Regions from separate parts of the Homo sapiens genome. Here regions 2 and 3 are each linked to region 1. The links are contacts of gene promoters, found by promoter capture Hi-C in human tissues and cell types (Jung and others, 2019). All regions are on one chromosome and are shown on one strand. The core of a region is centred on a gene start or on the middle of the fragment in contact, and the rest is flanking DNA. Distances in the headings are between cores, read along the strand shown. Region 1 holds the start of AJAP1 (adherens junctions associated protein 1). Region 2 has its middle 220 kb from the start of MIR4689. Region 3 has its middle 260 kb from the start of MIR4689.

What was found. Contacts are between HindIII fragments. The study calls those that stand out against the background at their distance.
Region 2: a fragment that was not itself captured here is called in contact with the fragment with the promoter of AJAP1 in region 1 in 1 of the 25 tissues and cell types used here (dorsolateral prefrontal cortex).
Region 3: a contact is called between a fragment that was not itself captured here and the fragment with the promoter of AJAP1 in region 1, in 1 of the 25 tissues and cell types used here (dorsolateral prefrontal cortex).

The regions. Positions count from the first base shown.
Region 1 is chr1:4,652,973-4,656,094 of GRCh38, reverse strand. AJAP1 (adherens junctions associated protein 1) reads right to left here and starts at 1,486. Exons shown (of 6, transcript NM_018836.4): 1 at 641-1,486. The coding sequence starts at 669. The HindIII fragment of the contact is 14,001 bases long and covers 1-3,122 here.
Region 2 is chr1:5,636,270-5,639,391 of GRCh38, reverse strand. No RefSeq gene overlaps it. Among named protein-coding and RNA genes, the nearest start is that of MIR4689, 220 kb to the left of the region's middle. The HindIII fragment of the contact is 3,885 bases long and covers 1-3,122 here.
Region 3 is chr1:5,600,337-5,603,458 of GRCh38, reverse strand. No RefSeq gene overlaps it. Among named protein-coding and RNA genes, the nearest start is that of MIR4689, 260 kb to the left of the region's middle. The HindIII fragment of the contact is 6,647 bases long and covers 1-3,122 here.

The DNA of each region.
Region 1 (3,122 bases), core at 237-2,736:
CCGCCGGAGCTCCCCAAGAACCCCAGCTCTCCCGCCCCAGCTGCCCGCCAGCTGTGAGCGCCCGTCGGGCCCGGAGGTCACCCGCAAACAGCTGGGTCGGCAGCTGGGAGCCTGGGAGGCCCCTGCTCAGCCCCGGGGCCCCGAGAAAGGAGAAGGGGGAGCGGAGTGGCTGTTTGGCTGTGGTTTCCTCCAACTCCGCCTGCGAAGCTCTCGCTGGGAGCCCGGAGCTTTAGCTTTCCCCGGCAGCCCCGGCCCCCGCGCCCGCCGCGCCCAGCGGCCGGCGCCTCGCCCCGGGCCCCGGGGAGGAGGCGCGCCGGGGCAGCCGGCCAGGACACTGCGCTGCTGGCTCCTAGAGCTGCGGGCGCGCCTGGCCGGCCCCACTTCCCGGGTTGCTGGGGCGGGCGCCGCTGCCCCGACCCCGGACGCGCGGAACCCTGGAGACCCGGCCGCTCCCCGCCAGGGCCGCGGTGCTGCTCCAGGCTCCGGGCGGGCGCCCCTTTCCGGCTACCGGTGCACCCCGTTGCCCGCTTGCGGGAAGCGAAGAGGGGTCCCTTGATTTGCAACATAGAGGAAAGCGCCGCTTCCGCCCAGCCTGGCACCCACGCGCCCACACGCACCCGGCGCCGGCCGGGTCGCTCACCTGAGTCCTAAAAGCTGTTGAATCCACATGGTCACGTTTCGGGGAGCGGGGCCTCAGACCTGGCTCGCCCAGGCCATCTGCGCGGCGCCCGCGCCCGCTCGCTTCCGTCCCGCGGCGCCGGTCTCCGGCTCTCGGTCCGCCGCCTCCCGCCGCCCGCCGGCCGCGGGGCGCACAGCGAGTCAGAGCGCGGCCGCGCGGGGCTCCATGCCGGCCGGCGCGCCGCCGCCGTTGGGGCGCATGGCTCAGGCTGGGCGGCCCGCGGGGGCGCACATCCTCCGGCCGGGGCGCGGGGCTCGCGGCCCCCTCCGCCGGCGGCACAGCGAAGGCGGCAGCGAGGCGGGGCGTGTTCCGGCGCTGTCGCGGCGCAGCAAAGGGCTGGGGAGCCGCGGCTTCGCCCTCCGGGGCGGCGAGGAGGGAGGCCGGCGGCGCTGCCGCTCACGGTGCGTGTCTCCCGGCGCGCGGCTCTTGCCTCCAGCCGGAGCTCCGCGCCGATGGGGCGGCGCTGCTTAGGGTTTGGGGTGACGCGACGCGGACGGACGCGAGTCCCCTCCGCGCTGCCGGGTCGGGGGGCTCTGCCAGAGGCTCCGCCGCCGATCGGCGCCACTCAAGTTGCCCGGGGGCTCCGTCTGAGCGCTCGCTCTGCAGACGGCCGCGGCCCGGAGACTGGCAGGAGGCGGGCACGAGAGGCGCGCGGGGCGAGGGCGCCGTGGAGCGCGGGGCGTGGGGACGCGCGGCGGCGGCGCCGCGCGGAGGAGGCGCGCGGGGATCCCGGGGCCCCGCCGCCCGCGCCCACCGCGCCCGCCGCAGAGCCGCCCGCGCTGCTCAGCCGCCTCCCTCCTCGCGTCTGCCTCTCCGCGCGCTCGCCCCCGCCTCCCGGAGCCGGTCCCAACTCCGCCCGCCCGGCCCGGCTCACGTCACCCGCCTTCCCCGCCCCTCGAACGGGAGCTCGAGCCCCTGGCCTGGCCCCGGCTCCTGCTCGCCGCCCCACCTTGCGGGGGCCGGGGTCGCCGCGGGTGGTGGGGGGCGCTGTGCCCAGCAGGGGCGACAGCGCAGGCGGGGCCTCCTGCAGCCCCCTTCCCCATCCCCGGTCGCGTCCCGGTCCCCACCTTGCGAAAGGCTCGAGAGAGGCCGCAGGCTAGGATTGGACCGCCGGGCGCCGCCGGATGGTGTTGCCAGGGTAACCGGATGGCACGCGAAGCCGTTCGAGGTTCCGACCCGGTTACGGGGGCGCCCAGTGGACCCGGAGAGCTACTTTGGGGAGGGGGCGGCCCCGAAGAAGGACTGGGTGGGGGCGCATGGAGCGGGGGCTGCGCGAAAAGTTTCCTGGGGCGGAGCTGAGCCACGCGGGCCGCGCAGGAGCGTCTGTCCGAGGGTCGCCTACGAGGGACTCCTCTGCTCGGCTGCGCGGGCTTCTGCGTTGATGAAGTCACCGCGTTCCGGGTCGGAGCTTCGGCGCTTCTGCCCCGAACCCAGCGAAGCCCGGTCCTATGCCCCCAATTACCCAACGGTCCCTCATCGCCCAGCGCAGCTGCTGCCTGGCCAGGCCCTTGCTCCGGAGGAGTCACTGGAAAGTTCCAGGGAATCTGGGCCTCCCGGACTCTCCACCGGCGTTTCACTGCTCCCTTCCCATGCCAGGACTCCTCTGTGCCTACCTGGTTAGTCTGTATTTGCAAAAAACAAACAAAAACAACAACAAAAAACAAATGGGGGGCACTTAAAGGAGGACAGACGCTGGGCGGGGACCTTTCACTGAGAGAAGTGACATGGGGCGGAATCCTCTGCAGACCCGCTGACGCCTTGAGAAACCACGGCAAAACCCTGCTTTTAATCCTCCACAGGCTGAGGGCAGTGCAGAATCCGGGCCTTGGAAAGGACACTGGTGCCACCCTTCACTGGGGAAAGGTGCAAGGGGCGGGGGATATACCATGCCGAGCCTTCGCTCTGTGCTCTGTGCAGGTGCTTGACCCAGGCCAGCTCTGGAATCGCCCCAGGCCATGTGAGAGCCGTGGGGGGTGAGAGGGGCGGGAAGCACTTCACAGGTGAGGCCTCCCTGGGAGGGGCAGCCAGTGAGGGGGTGGAAGGGCAGAGCCAGGAGGACCATGGCTTGGGGCTCAGTCTCCCAGGCGAACCATAGCTTGGGGCTTAAGTCCCCCAAGCAGCCCTTTCACCCCCAGGCCTCCAGGATCTTTGCCAACGGTCTTGAGGAGCCAGGCACAGGATTGGACTCTGCCCGGGCAGGAGGATGAAGACAGTGACTTCCCCACCAAGACTCCCGGCAGAGGGCCAGAGGCAGGGAAGTGTGGTGGCAGGAGGGCCAGCCTTGCCGTGGCTGGACCAGGGGCCAGCGCTTGCTAACTCGGGGTCCTGGCCGAGTTGTGTGGCCTCTCCGACCCTCGGTCTCCTCATCTGTAAGATGGGTCCCACAGCCCCTCCCCGGGGAGGTGTTTGCAGGGCTCCATGAGAAGGCCTTACACACACTGTG
Region 2 (3,122 bases), core at 427-2,926, 980 kb before region 1:
CTGTAGCCAAAGACAGCATGGTCACGAGCCTGGCCATGTGTTTCACTAAGCTTTGGGAGGTGAAATGTAACAGCCAACTCCTTCTGATTTGAAATATTTAAATGAGCCTGGAGAAATTGTGTTACACATTGGAAACCTTTGAGCTGTGTGCTTTATGAATCCTGTGACAACAGTGATGAGAAGCTCACCCAGAAAGCAGATGGGGCCCGTGGAGCAGGACTTCCCAGCTCACCAAGGACAGTGCAGCCAAGGCTCCCAGGCTTGTGTTCCAGAAGAGCTGCTGCAGGAGAGGGTGGCCCGAAGTCAGTGCTCCTATAGTCCCCGCTCTGGTAGCCTCCTTCTTCTGCTTTCCACAAGAGTAGTGGTGACTTTCTGGCATTTCTCTGATCAGGTCCCGAAGTTAGATAATATTTGGAGAGCCTTGCATGGCCAGCAAAACATGTTTTTAATATTGACCTTCACCCTACAAATTAAAAACTGTTGCCCCTTTCACATTGACCCACCCACCTGGTAGAAGGTAGAAAGGTTCATCTCTGAAATCGCCCTGAGACCCAGGAGGTGCTGGGGGTGGGGAAGCCATCTTCTGATTGGAGAGACCAGCTGTCAGTCATTTTGTGCTGGACACAGGTTCTCAGGGCTCCTGGTTTCTCTAAGAATGGACAAGGACAGCACTCACCCTGTTGCCAGCCTCCTTCCATGCAGCTCCAACTGCAGCCGTAAGTGAACAGTATTTCTCAAAGTTGTTTACAGCTTTGGAAAACATAAACGCCTCATTACCTGTGTGGAGCATCCTCCTGAGAGACCCTCTCCTGGTGCCAGGCCCCTGGGGAAAATCCCGCTATCTTTTGTTTCTGTACAAGCTAACGGGACTTTGTTGAGCCTTACTTTCCCTAATTTACTATAAGGAATAAAAAAATGGACTTTCCCATAACACAAGATCTTCCTATTGACCAAGCTGAATAAACTCCATGTGCCCCACCCATCTTCCATCAGCTGAGAGTCAGGTCTGTTTCCTTAATGGAATCCCCCTCTAAGTCACGGCCTCTGACACAATCACAGCTCAGCTGTGCTTCTTACTGGCAGGACTTTTCCCAAATCACGTGGGTATTTGTGCTGGTTTCCTGCCCTCTGCTGTGGGGTCTGTGATGTCTGAGGCCTTGTCTCTTGTGTCCATCGGGAGACCCTGTATGCCTGGCACATGGCAACACATGAGCACAAGGGCAGGGACTGTATGCGTCCTGCTTACCGGAGCACCTGAACATAGGAAACACCAATACCTGTGGGCCAAATGCACCTGTTGTATTCATTTCTTAGGGCTGTCCTAACAAATAACCATAAACTGGGGGGCTTAAAACAGCAGAAATTATTGTCTCACAGTTCTGGAGGCCAGAAGTCAAAAATCAGAGTATCTGCACAGCTGTGCTGCTTCTGCAGGCTCTAGGGCAGCGGTCCCCAACCCCTAGGCCATGGACAGGTATCATCAGTCCATGGGCTGTTAGGAACTGGGCTGCGCAGCAGGAGGGGAGTAGTGGGTGAGCAAGCAAAGTTTCATCTTATTTACAGCTGCTCCCCATGGCTCACATTACCAGCCTGAGCTCTACCTCCTGTCAGATCAGCAGTGGCATTAGATTCTTATAGGAGCAAGAACCCTACTGTGAAGTGTGCATATGAGGGATCTAGGTTACACCTCTCTTTATGAGAATGTAATGCCTGATGATCTGTCACTGTCTCCCATCAGCCCCAGATGGGACTGTCTAGTTGCAGGAAAGCAAACTCAAGGCTCCCACTGATTGTACACTATGCTGAGTTATAGAATTACTTCATTATGTATTAGAAAGTAAGAATAATAGAAATAAAGTGCACAATAAATGTAATGTGCTTGAATCATCTCAAAATCAACCCCTCCTCACCTCTCTGTGGAAAAACTGTCTTTCTCAAAACCAGTCCCTAGTGCCCAAAAGATTGAGGACTGCTGCTCCAGGAGAAGATCCTTTCTTGCCTCTGCCACTTCTGCCATCTGCTGGCAGCCCCTGGCATACCTTGGCTTGTGGCCACATCTCTCCAATCTCTGCTGCTTTCTCTGCATGGCTTTCTCCCCTCCGTGTCTCTACGCCTATGTCCAAATTTTTCTTTTCTTATAAGGACCACAGTCATTGGATTATGGCCCACCCCACTGTAATGTGACCTCATCTTCATTTGATTACATTTGTCAGGGCCCTATTTCTTAATAAGATTAGATTCACAGCTACCAGGAGTCAGGACTTGAACGCATCATTTGGGGGACCCAACGTAACCCACAACACTGATGGATGCAAAATTAGGAATAAGAGAGGGGCCCAGCTTCGCATCAGGGATCTGCAGTTTTGAACCAAAAGGATGAATGTGAAGCAGCACCACACATATGGTTTACATACAGTATTCCTGTTCTCATGCACTATTTCATGAGATGATGAGACTCACGAGATGGTGTGATAAAAATAATAATAGCCAATATTTGCTGAATGCTGGATCCATGTCGGGTCTGAACTCAATGTTTTATGGGGATCATCTCATTTATTCTCCATTGTTGCCCTACAATGGGGTCATTCCCCTCTCCCCTTCCTTATTCACAAACATCCAGTGAGCTCTTCTTTACTGCGCCGGGCAGTGGATGGGGCACAAACACTGACATCTTCATTTCTAAAGCTGAGAGTCCAAGGAAACAATTTTGGTTAAATCTTCCCTTTCTCCACATCCCTTGCTAGCACTCAAATCATAGTCACTTTCCTCCCCAATGTGCTGCCTCCTCATAAATTTTGTAATCCTCAAATTACATTTCTGTCATCTGCCCATTCGTTTTATTACCTGCCGATAAAGAAAAGGTCAAAGTCAGTAATTCCAGATTTCAGAAGTGTTTAATCATCGCTGATAAATAGAAACCCTTTCTCCAAAAAGGCAAAATGATAACATTAAAATTTTAAAAAATTTGTTGTCAGAATATTTTTAAGAGGACAGTAACCTTTCCATCTGACCTGCTCTTTGGTGAACAAATCAAACGACACAATTATGTCTTCCCTGAACTTCAGTGGCTTTGAGTCTGAATGCGTTAGATTGGGCTTAGCATAAAGAATAGCTTTATAATG
Region 3 (3,122 bases), core at 257-2,756, 950 kb before region 1:
AGATAGAGATGGGAGAGAGATGAGAGAAAGAGATAGAGATGAGAGAGAGAAAGATATAGAGATGGAAGAGAGATGAGAGAGAAAGAGATAGAGATGAGAGAGAGAAAGATGGGAGAGAGATAAGAGAAAGAGATAGATATGAGAGAGAGAGGGAGAGAGAGAGGAAAAGAATAATCCATTGACAGCCCTTGGAAACACAAAATTCTTACTGTTAAAAACAATTAAAGGGAAAGAATTAGCCAATTATTCTTTACTGATCAGAAATATATAGCCCTGGTTGATGTGGGATAGTGCTTAAGAGAAGAATCTTAGCTAATAAATGGGAAAGTATTGTTAGAAAATACATTTTTTTAAGCCCTGACTGGAATAATGGATTCAGGCAAAGATTATCAATGGACGGAGCCATTAGAGAAGTTAGGGAGCTTGCCCTGGGTCACACAGCCAAGAAGCAGCAGAGGCAGGATCTGAACCCTGCCAGCCTGATTTGTGGCCATGACAGCACTGATATGGTTTGCCTGTGTCCCCACGCAAATCTCATCTTGAATTGTAATCCCATTATCTCCACATGTTGTGGGAGGGACCCGGTGGGAGGTAATTGAATCATGGAGGTGGTTTCTCCCATGCTGTTCTCGTGACAGTGAGTGAGTTCTCATGGAATCTGATAGTTTTATAAGCATCTGGCATTTCCCCTGCTGGCACTCATTCTTTCTCCTGCCGCCCTGTGAAGAGGTGACTTCCATCATGGTTGTAAGTTTCCTGAGGCCTCCCTAGCCGTGCAGAACTGTGAGTCAGTTAAACCTCTTTTCTTTATAAATTACCCAGTCTTGGGTATTTCTTCATTGCAGTGTGAGAACAGACCAATACAGGAACTTTCCCTCATACATTGGTAATAAGTGCATTCACTCATTAAGCAAGTACTCATTGTGAACTTAAACTGCTGGGGATATGTCGGTGAACATAATCCATGCAGTCTGGTCTCACTGCGAGCACACACACAGGGGGTTAAACCCAGGACTGTGGGCATGTGGGAGATCATTATACTCTTCCCTGTACTCTGCTGTATGTTTGAAGGTTTTTCACAGCAAACATAAGAAAAAGTAATTAAGGGAGATTAAATCAGTATTGTATTGGCATCCAATTTAGTCTTAATAGTTCAGATGCATAGCATCTACTTATCACAGCAAAACGATGAAGCTATTTTGATGCACGTGACATTTTAAAATTCGGGATTATGAAAGACATTTCAGCATCCCCCTTATTTCCAAAGCTTTTTTCAGTTGAAACATGCCAGGAAAGTCTCGATTCTCCTAGAATGTGGCTACAAAGAAAAACAATCTTTAAAAAGTCCACCTTGCAATCCCAAGATTCTTTCCAATTAAATTGGTACCAAGGCTTGGAAGACAGATTTATGCTCCTTATGATTAAGATGAAAGTTCGATAGGAATCCTTCAGGTTTTAAGTAACCATTTAAACTGATTCCAGAGTGACAGAATCTCCTGCTTCTCCTGCTGCGTCTCCCACACCCCATGCCGCGTCTCCACACCCCATGCCGCGTCTCCACACCCCATGCCGCGTCTCCCACACCCCATGCTGCGTCCCCACACCCCATGCCGCGTCCCCACACCCCATGCCGCGTCTCCCACACCCCATGCTGCGTCTCCACATCCCGTGCCGCGTCTCCACACCCCATACTGCATCCCCGCACCCCATGCTGCGTCTCTACACCGCATACTGCATCCCTGCACCCCATGCTGCGTTCCTGCACCCCATACTGCGTCTCCACACCACATCTGCATCTTCCACACCCCATGCTGCGTCTCCGCACCCCATGCTTGCTGGTTTCTCCCTTGTAATGAGAATGAGCTTTATGCACTTGAGCCTGACCCTTGCCCAGCATTAACGGAGCCCAGGGTGTGAGTGCTGCCAGAGTGTACCTTCAGCCCTCCTTATCCACGACACACTTAATCAATCCCGAATCCTCAGGAAGAGTGCCAGAGCCTTGGTTCCAGGTTCGCCCTAGGAAGGAGGTGGCCTGTCAGTCAGGAAACAGCCTGCTGGTCTGTGACGTGTGAAACTTTTCCTTTAACACCTTTGGGAATGTGTTGATTTTTCATTACCTCTAAAAATAGTTTAAATTTAATTACAGTGAAATTTTGTAGAATCATTTTTGGAATCCTTGAACAAATTCTGAGGGGTTCTGGGCTACATGGTCTGAAATCTCATCATGTGTGTCTCTGAAGACCCTAATCTCATTCTGCTTTGGATTATGGCTAGGAGTCAGGAGTTATTCTGGATGTAGAGACTGAGTTGTGTTCTTAAGTAGGGCTTAAAAAGTTTGGGGCCATTGTTCAGGCTTAACACATGGGGAATGAACTGAATGAATGTATGGTCCCCCTCAAGGACAAGGAACTTTCATTCTGTGGTATCCAGAGGACTCAGCATGAAACCTGGGCGATGGTAGTGAATAAGTGAATGAATGAATAAATGAATGAATAGAAAAGACTCTTTGACTCCTGGTGCCATTGTAACATGCAGCCCTGTCAGGGAAGGGAGTTGGTCCTGTCACCCACATTGCCCGGAGCTTGGCTTTGGAAAGCCAGCCAGCATAATCTGTCATCTGCAAACCTCATGCATCCTTTCCTGCTTAAGTGCTTAGAGGAACCCACATACGTGAGAGGTTCGTTTGTCATCCCCTCTTCTGTTGGGGGCACCAGGGGCTCCCCCACCCACAGCCCATGCTTTTGAGCAGACGGGTGAGTTTAGATAAAGCAATTCCCACGCTCCACTGCTTTCCAGAGATGGGGGCTCACGGTTGGTGGATCCTGGAAGATGAATGACATGGAGCAGGTGACTCCTCTCCCCCTCCCTGAAAAGCCTGGACCAGAATGGAATCTGCCCGCCCTGGGAGGCCTCTCTCTTTGACAGACTCTGCTAAAACAATTGCACTTGTCAGGATCCATCAGGAGAGACTGGTTTCAGGCAGTGAATTGAATTTGCAAGCAAGATAATCAGTTATTGATTGAAAGGGCGAGTCGCAGCTCCTGCCTGCTTCTGAGGAAATGAACTTCTTCTCTTTCTAGAATATTTAATGGCTGGAGCGAGGAGCGATTGCCAGAAGTCAC